Regions from separate parts of the Homo sapiens genome. Here region 1 is linked to region 2. Evidence: promoter capture Hi-C in 16 types of primary human blood cells and fetal thymus (Javierre and others, 2016). All regions are on one chromosome and are shown on one strand. The core of a region is centred on a gene start or on the middle of the fragment in contact, and the rest is flanking DNA. Distances in the headings are between cores, read along the strand shown.

The links. Contacts are between HindIII fragments. The CHiCAGO score rates a contact against its expected background, and 5 or more counts as called.
Region 1: a contact is called between a fragment that was not itself captured here and the fragment with the promoter of CSNK1A1L in region 2, in 1 of 17 cell types (endothelial precursors). The highest score is 8.3, in endothelial precursors.

What each region holds. Positions count from the first base shown.
Region 1 is chr13:37,623,717-37,628,197 of GRCh38, forward strand. No RefSeq gene overlaps it. Among named protein-coding and RNA genes, the nearest start is that of POSTN, 27 kb to the left of the region's middle. The HindIII fragment of the contact is 705 bases long and covers 2,370-3,074 here.
Region 2 is chr13:37,102,760-37,107,203 of GRCh38, forward strand. It overlaps CSNK1A1L (casein kinase 1 alpha 1 like), which reads right to left and starts at 2,905. Exons shown (of 1, transcript NM_145203.6): 1 at 500-2,905. The coding sequence starts at 2,497. The coding sequence ends at 1,484. The HindIII fragment of the contact is 4,821 bases long and covers 1-4,444 here.

The DNA of each region.
Region 1 (4,481 bases), core at 1,472-3,971, 520 kb after region 2:
CAGTGAAATTATCAGTAGATATTTATAAGTGAGGTATCTTATATTGGTTACTTAATGTATAACAACCTAGAGCATATATATACAGAAAATCCAAAACAGTTTAAAAGTTTCTTCTCATCTGAGGTCAGGAGTTCGAGACCAGCCTGGCCAACATGGCGAAACCACATCTCTACTAAAAATACAAAAATTATCCAGGCATGGTGGTGGGTGCCTGTAATCCCAGCTACTCAGGAGGCTGAGGCAGGAGAATCGCTTGAACCCAGGGGCAGAGTTTACAGTGAGTTGAGATCGCACCACTTCACTCCCGCCTGGACGAAACAGCGAGAGTCTGTCTCACCCAAAAAAAAAAAAGAAAAAAAAGAACCCCTGGGAAGTTTGTGTATACATTATGCTGTGCTGAAATGGGTAATAAATCCATAAATGGAATATTACTTGGACATAAAGAGAAAGGAAATACTAATACAGGTTACGACATGAATGAAACTTGAAAACATTATGTTCTGAAAGAAGCCAGTCACAAAATACCACATATATGATTCTATTCATATAAAAATTCAGAACAGGAAATCTATAGAGACAGAAAAGTTAGTGTTTTCTTGGGGATGGAGGTGGGTGGGAGTGGGAGCACAGGGTGGTGATAGATGAAAAGTACAGGGTTTCTTTTTGAGGCAATGAAAATGTAAAATGGACTGTGGTGATGATTACATATATCTATGAATATACTAAAACCATTGAATTATACACTTTAAGTAGGGAAATTGTATAGTATGTGGATTATATCTCAATGAAGCTGTTTAAAATGATGTTTAATCTTTAGATGCTTAAGAATGGCCAGAAAATTCACTACAATTGAGTATAAAACATACTTAGTTTTTAAACATAACATATAAAACTTGTTAGAATTGTAGTCACTTGTTTTGCTTTAGAAAAATTTATTCCCCATTTATCATCTACAGACTGGAAATCAGGTTATTCCACACCATTGAGTGAAATCCCCAAAAAGCTCCTTTTCAGAATTAAAAGAACTCACTTCTCTTTCATTTTGACATGCAAATGTGAGGATTATTTCCTCATCTCATTCTGTCTGTAGTTAAATAGAATTTTGTCATGACAAACTCCTGTAATAAATTATTTAATGACACCCAATTATTCCCAGGATAAAGATCAACTACCGAATGACTATTACTTATCTTTAGGAAATAACACAGACATCCCTTATTCTCTGTTCCTAATACTGGGTTAGATTCCCCTCCTAGATTCTCCCCGGGGACACCATAGTTATCACACTTAATTGTTATTTCCATAGGATTGAACTTTTAGTTCAATAACTTTTTGTTTTATTATTTTATCCTCAGCAAGTATTACAATGTGTGTCACAAAGTGTATGCTTAATCAATGTTAATAAAGGAGGTAATAATTATTTCAAACAGCAATTTACCATGTGGGTGAGTAAAAATATGAAGGCGCTAAATAATCAATATATCATCAATTTAATAAATTTATTCTATGTGTCAGATGAAAAATGGTGCCTTTTCTGTATTTCTTACTATATTTCTGTCTGAAAGAAAATGAAAATACATACCTAATTTAAAAAAGTAATCTCTTTTCACATTAATGAATGATGGAGAAAAAAAAAAGTGGTCTGCAAACCCTGACTGTTAAGCACCATCTATACAGAGACTAACACTATGTTTCTGATCTTACAATGTAAAACATAAGTGAGATTTTTCCTGACTTGACATTGTGAGTTCCTATAGAAAGCATTCTTCATCTTTTTACTTCCATTTTTTGACACAGAGTCAAAACTCTGATTTGGGGGAAAAATGGAAAATAATAGAAAGTGAAAGCCAAATTAGAGATCCAGATTATCTCATACATTAAATTACAATTTCCAACTTTGAGTTTTGTAAAAAGTGGCAACTTCAAATTTTATAAGAGAAGAATTCCAATTGTTTCCATTGATTAAGCAATTTAATTGCTTGCTGTATTTTCATCAGAGAATAAAAATATTATGGTATTATATATCATAATGACTTAGCCAAAACTCTAGTCTATATTTTTATGGTTATTTATTAAAAATAATTATCCTTCTAATGCAAGCCTCACAAATGATTTTAATTAACATGGGAATTTCATGCCACACTCTTTATCATTAAATGGCTATATTTTTGCTGGACACTAAATTGTAATGTTTAATGGTTTATACACAGTCTCATAAAATTATAATTTCATTATTCTAATATGATTTAGTTTATACTAATGAATTACATTAATTTTTTTTACCCAGGTTATTTTCTTTTGTTGTCATTATTCACTGTCAAAGCTAAAGCGGAATACATGATTGGTGGTTTCAATGGTAGCTACTAACAAGCTTCAAATTTAGTGAATATTCTTTAAAACACAGGGTGTCATGCCATATTTCTGCAATCTCATGCTTTTTCAAACAGCCATTGAATTTCATGAAGTGGCTTGCATTTGAACTTTTTTAATTTATTTGTTTATTTCTGGTTTCCAGTCTCATCAGAGCAATTTTTCTCATCTTTATTGCTTCTCCATCTGGTTCAAGAAGTTGTGAGAAATGTAATAGAATTGAAAAATTACTTGAGTTTTATTTTTTTTCAAACTTCAGAAAAGTCTGGCTACAACTTCAGGGTAACTGGGTTAGTTTTTATCTCATAAAAATAATTTTTCTTTCGTGTTGTCTCCCCATTTCACTGCTATTAATAACTGCATGTTTGCCAGTCAGCATTCCCCTCATCATTTCCTCTACGTTACATGTGTGATTCTATTCCTGAAGTTTACTTTTCTTCTGTAAATCTGTATGTATGTGATATGGTTTACTTATTTGTCTCCTCCAAATCTTATGTTTAATTGTGATCCCAATGATGGAGCTGGGGCTTAGTGAGAGGTGTTTGGGTCATTGGGACAGTTCCCTCATGAGTGGCTTGGTGCCCTCCCCATTGTAATGAGTTCACGTGACAGTTGGTTGTTTAAAAGAGTATAGCAATTCTCTCTTGTGCTCTCTCTCACTATGGGACACACCTGATACCTCTTTGCCTTCTGCCAAGAATAAAAGCTTCTTGTTCAACAGAAGCTGGTCAGATGCCAGCACCATGCTTGCGCAGCCTGCAGAACCCTGAGCCAAACCTCTTTTCTTTATAAATTACCCAGCCTAAGGTATTCCTTTATAGCAATGCAAAATGAACTAATATGGTATGCTACTTAATGTACTTGAAAAAATGGGAAAGACAGTATGATTATATATAAAACACAAAAGAATACAACCTTTAGAAAAAAACACATAGAATGAAATCCTCATGATCTAGGCAAAGTGCTCTTCAAATTTTCATACAAAGTAAGATGGAAAAATTGGACTTAAAATCTTAAAATCATGCTTTGTTGAAAACTCTGTCAAGAAGATGAAAAGACAAGTTACAGACTGGGAGAAAATATTTGCAAAACACATCCGACAGATGACTGGTATCTCGAATATAAAAAGGACACTCAAAAAGTCAACAATAAAAACAAACATACAAACAGTCTAATTAGAAAATGTACAAATGACATGAGCAGACATGTCACCATGATGGCATACAGATGGGGAGTAAACACAATAAATGGTGTTTAAAATCATTATCCATTAGGAAAATCCAAATTAATATCACAATGAGATATTGTTACATAGAAATCAGAACAAGTAAAATACAAATTGTTACCCACATAAAATGCTAGCAAAAAAAGAGAAACAGAATCACTCATATATTGTTGGCGAGTGTGTAAAAGGTACAGTACACTGACATGTCGTTTATAAAACTAAGTATGCAACTGCCATACTACCTAGCAATTGTAGTTCCGGGCGTCTATCCCAGACAAATAAAAATTATGTTCACACCAGAACCTGTACATAAATGTTCATAGCATTTTTATTTGTATTAGCCAAACACTGGGAACAGCCTAGCTATCCTTCCATGGGTGAAGTGCTAAACAAATGTTGTTATATCCACACCAGGGAATTTAACTGAGCAATAAAAAAGAATCAAAATTTGATAGACATAAACAAACAACTTGAATAAATTTTCAGAGAATTATGCTGAGTGAAAAGCCCTAACCTTCAAAGGTTATATGCTACATAATTCCATTTATATAACACTGATAATGTTTTGACTTGAAATGACAAAATGATAAAAAATGGATAACAAATTAGTGGTTGTCAGGGGTTAGGGATGGGTGTGGGGGTGGAGGAGAGGAAATGGAAGTATTATACAGGTATACCTTGTTTTACTGCACTTTTCTCCATTGTGCTTCACAGATATTGCATTGTTTTACAAATGGAACCTGCGAGTCTATGGATGCCATCTTTTTAACAGTATGTGTTCACTTTGTGCCTTTGTGTCACATTTTGGTAATTCCACAATATTGTAAACTTTTTCATTATTATTATATCTGTTACAGTGACCTGTGATCCTTGACATTACTATTGT
Region 2 (4,444 bases), core at 1,655-4,154:
AGGCTCCTGGCAGCATTTTCAGACAAATGTTCTTTTAATTTATCCTGACATGCTATAAGTGAATAAATTACACGATTTAAAGAATTAAAAGGAAAATGAGTTTTCCTTTATCTTGCATCAGAGAAAAAGAAAAGAACGTGCAAAAAGATTGAGAGGAAGAGCACGCACACACAGATAATTCAGAGAAGCAGACGGGGGTTAGGGAGGGTCAATGATCACAGAACCTCACAGTGTGCTCTCCAAGGGTAAAAGTCAACTGCTTATAGCCATTTCACAAGTATTTTAAACAACAATGTTTTGTAGTCAAACCCTTCAATGCTTGCATTCTTATTTGAAATCAGCCCAGCTATTAGTCAGTGGAAGAAGTAACAATACCAAGTTTTGGCAGGTGCAGTACTAGATATTTTACCACAAGTCATTAGAAAAAGAAAAATGAAAGAATACATTTCCCCTTCATACAAAACGATTATTTTAGAATAAAAACATTGAAAAAAGTTATATAATGAAATAAAATTTACTTGCAAGGGAATATCATGTAACAAATGGCTCGAAGTTGACTATCAAAAAATTGGGGAGATTTTTATTTCCTAGTGAATCAGCAAGGCATTTTTTGGTTGTTGTTTAAAAAAGTATTATTTCCTTATAGAAACAGTTTTCAGATTTTAGTGAACTTGTAAAACATAAAAGCTCCCATTTCAAAATATGAACAAAATCCCAGATCATATGGGTGTTTACGGTGATTACATTTATCTAAGCCATGTACATACATGTTCAGTTGTAAGATGTTAACTAAATTTCTGTGACAAATATGGTTGTTGTTGTTTTTAAAATACCGAGAACATGATATAGTTAATGTGGAATTCTAAAGATAATCTGGTAGTTACTAAGATTTTCTTATGTCTTCACAGGTAAGCAGGCGGAATCTTTCCTATTCTCAAAACTGGAATTTTTGGTTACTACTAGATCAGCTGGCTTACAGACAAGAAGCCAACCATTTTAAGAATGCTCTTTATGTGAACAATTTGCAAACCCCAGGGATGGAGAAACCCTAAAAATGCTCAATCATAAGCATTTACAACCTTTGCAGCTGTGGCTGAATACTGTCCTTCTGAAATGATATCTCAAAGCAGTCTAGTTCAAAATAAAAGGTTTTAACAAAAAATTGGCATATGGACAATGTCTCCACCAATTCGTGTGTGTCAACCATTTAGTTAACTTTTCTACTTGAATAAATGCAATAGAAAACCAGACACCACGTTTCACTACCTCAGTTAATATTCACAATTACAGAGGCTACACTTTGGGATACAGCATCACCAACGCTCCCCAGAGTCAGTTTATATTGAAATAAAGTTTTTTACACCAACTAAATGGTTGTTCACAGCCACTAGCTGGTGTACATATGAACTACAATTTCTAGATGTGGGGAGAAACAAATGCTGCTCGAATCATCTGCTCTGCTTCTTCTGTTCCTCATTCACGCTTAGTTATCTTTCACATTATTCTTGTTTTTTTCAGTTTGCTTGCCTGTCTGGGTTTGGGCCTGCTGACCCTGCCCACTGGAAGAGGCTGCCTGCTGTGCTGCTTTCTGCTTTAACATCGTCCAATCAAATGTGTAGTCATATTGGTGGTTCAGGGTCCTGAAAAGAATGCGGAATAGCTGCCTCAGATACATGTAATCTGGGACTTCCTCAAAGCGCAGCCCACGACAGTAGTTCAAGTACATGGCGAATTCTGCAGGAAACCCCTTACATAAAACTTCAACAGGGGTGGACATCTTCTTCTCACTAATCTTTTCATATTTTTGTTTTTTTGTCATAGCCCTTAGTCCTTGCCACGGCAGGCTGGTTCTATTAAAATACATGAAAACGTAGCCTAAGGATTCCATGTCATCTCGGCGGCTCTGCTCAATACCAAGATGTGCATTGATGCTGGCATATCGGACAGTGCCAATGAGGTGTTTATCTTCTCTGTACGGTATGTGTTGCCTGGTCCTGTTGTCTCTGTACTTTTTGGCCAAACCAAAATCAATAAGGAACAACTTATTACAGTGACGCCCAGTACCCATCAGGAAGTTATCTGGTTTAATGTCTCGGTGTAGAAAATTCTTTGTATGCACGTATTCAATTCTGCTGATCATCTGGTCGGCTAACATAAGTACAGTTTTCATGGTGAACCTTCTTGAACAGAAATTAAAGAGGTCTTCGAGGCTGGGTCCCAGAAGGTCCATGACTAGCACATTGTTGTCTTTTTCCTGACCATACCAGTGCATGTGGGGGATGCCAACCCCACCTTGAAGAATCGTGTAGAGTTTGCTCTCATACAGCAACTGGGGGTGCTTGACCTTCTGAGATTCCAGCTTCACTGCTACGTCCTCGCCGTTGGTGGTGGTGATGCCCAGATAAACGTCTCCAAAGGAGCCAGACCCGATCTTCCGCACCAGTTTGTATTTCCCTCCCACAACGAGTTCGGCTTTGGAGCCGCTGTTGTTTGTCATCCTGAGAGGCAAAGATGGAGGCTGGGCTCAGCCCTGACCCCTCTAGGGGAGGATGGAGGCCTCCGGGGCCCACCGGCCCGCAAGGCTGAGGATGAGGGCTGCTGGAAATGGCCACCGAGGCGTTTCCCGGTGTTACAGGGCGTGGAGTCAGCCTGATCCCTGCAGCACACCAGGATTTCCGCCAGGCCACAGTTTGCGAGGGTTTCTCAAGGTTCCAGGCTGGGCCACCACCTCTTTCTCGGTGGCGGTCGCTGCCTCGCTGTCGTGGCGATGTCGTGGGCTGAGAAAGGGGGCACAGCGAGTTGGGGCAGCAGTACTGCTGCCACCGCTACCAACGGCTGTGGGCCAGAGGGCCCGGTCACGCCGCCGGCGCCGCCATTTTGTTCCTCCACCTCAGCCAACCACAAATCGAGAATTTTTGGAGAAGCTGTTATTGTCTGAGACCTCTGTTAGGTGTTCCACTCATCTCACTCCATTTAAGACAAACTTGCTAGTCTTGTAAGGTAGCTATTATTTTCCCTGATTTGTTGGGTAAGAAAGGCTGAGTCTCAGGTAAGCGGCCTAAGGTTGCAAGAGATTGTGGGCGAGCTGGAATTCAAAACTGCCTAGGCTTAACTCGAAGCTCACCTTCTTTCAACTTAATCGTGCAGAAATGGGAGGCTTTTATAACAAAGATTTTCTTGTTTTCGGGCCCAGTCATTGTCCCATCTACTTCCTTAGCCATCATGTCTCCCTGGGTTAATGCGAGTCGGGGTGCCACCTCTTGAGGTTTTTCTGTGTGATCTCAGTGGTTGCTTCTTTAATGAGTTTAGTCAACAAGAGTTACTTACTGCTAGTTAAATTGAAATGTCTTTTTTTTTTTTTTTAAAGCGATCCTTTTGAAATTTTTTCATAGAGTGCTTTGAATTTAAATAGGATTCCACAGAGACGTTCTGGCAAAACTGACTAAATGAAGGATTCAAGTAAAATTTAACCAAAATATGGAGAAGAAACAGAAGCCGGCAGTTCTGAGCATTTTCTCAGAAGAACTGGGGCCAGCACTAGCAGAAAAAGCGGTACCATTTCAATATTTTTATGAAAGTTCACATCACAAATAACAAAACCCGTGCGATTATTTTGTTTTATGAGGAGATGGGATAGGAACTGAGTATAATCCTAACGGGGCAGTAGCAACGAATTTGGGGGCCAATGGCAGAAAGGCAGGAGAGAGAGGTGCAGCTTTGAAAGCAGGTATTCTCACTTTACTGTCTCACATAAGTTAGTGCTGTTAACTTTTCTGACCTGCATCAATCTATGGCGAGAGAAGGAGCTGGTTTGAGACATAGACGGGCATAGAACATTATAAAGTGCTTTAAAACATTTTTAAAGTCCACTTCAGACAAATATGTGAGGTGGGTAGCGCAGTATATTACTTGGCTTTGCAGCAGGAACAACTCGCAAATCTCAGTGGCTTACAATGACAAAGTTTATTTATCATTCAGGTTTTATGTAAGCTGTAGATCAGCTGCATCTCTGCTTCCTGTGTCCTCTTTGTTCTAGAATGCAGGCTGAAAGAGCAGCCTCCTTAGGAGCATGCTGTTCTCATAATAAAAGGAGTGGCAAATGTTACATTCCACTGGGCAAAACACATCACATGGCCAGGTCCAAAGACAGTGGGGTGAAAATACATACTCCTACCTCAGGTGGATAGTAATACAGTATACTGCTGGCATATTTTATTATTATGATTGTACTTCTCATTTTATACAAGTGGAAATCAAGGCATAGAGAGGTTAGATGAATTGCCCAAGACCACACTACAGACAAGTGTCAGAGGCCAATTTGAAACTGAATTCTGACCCAAGGTAGTTACTTTTTATACCGTACCAACTAGAATGGCATTTCTTTCATTTACTCATCCAACTTTGTTGAAATTTGCCTGGAGAACAATTTCCTTTCTAATAACCA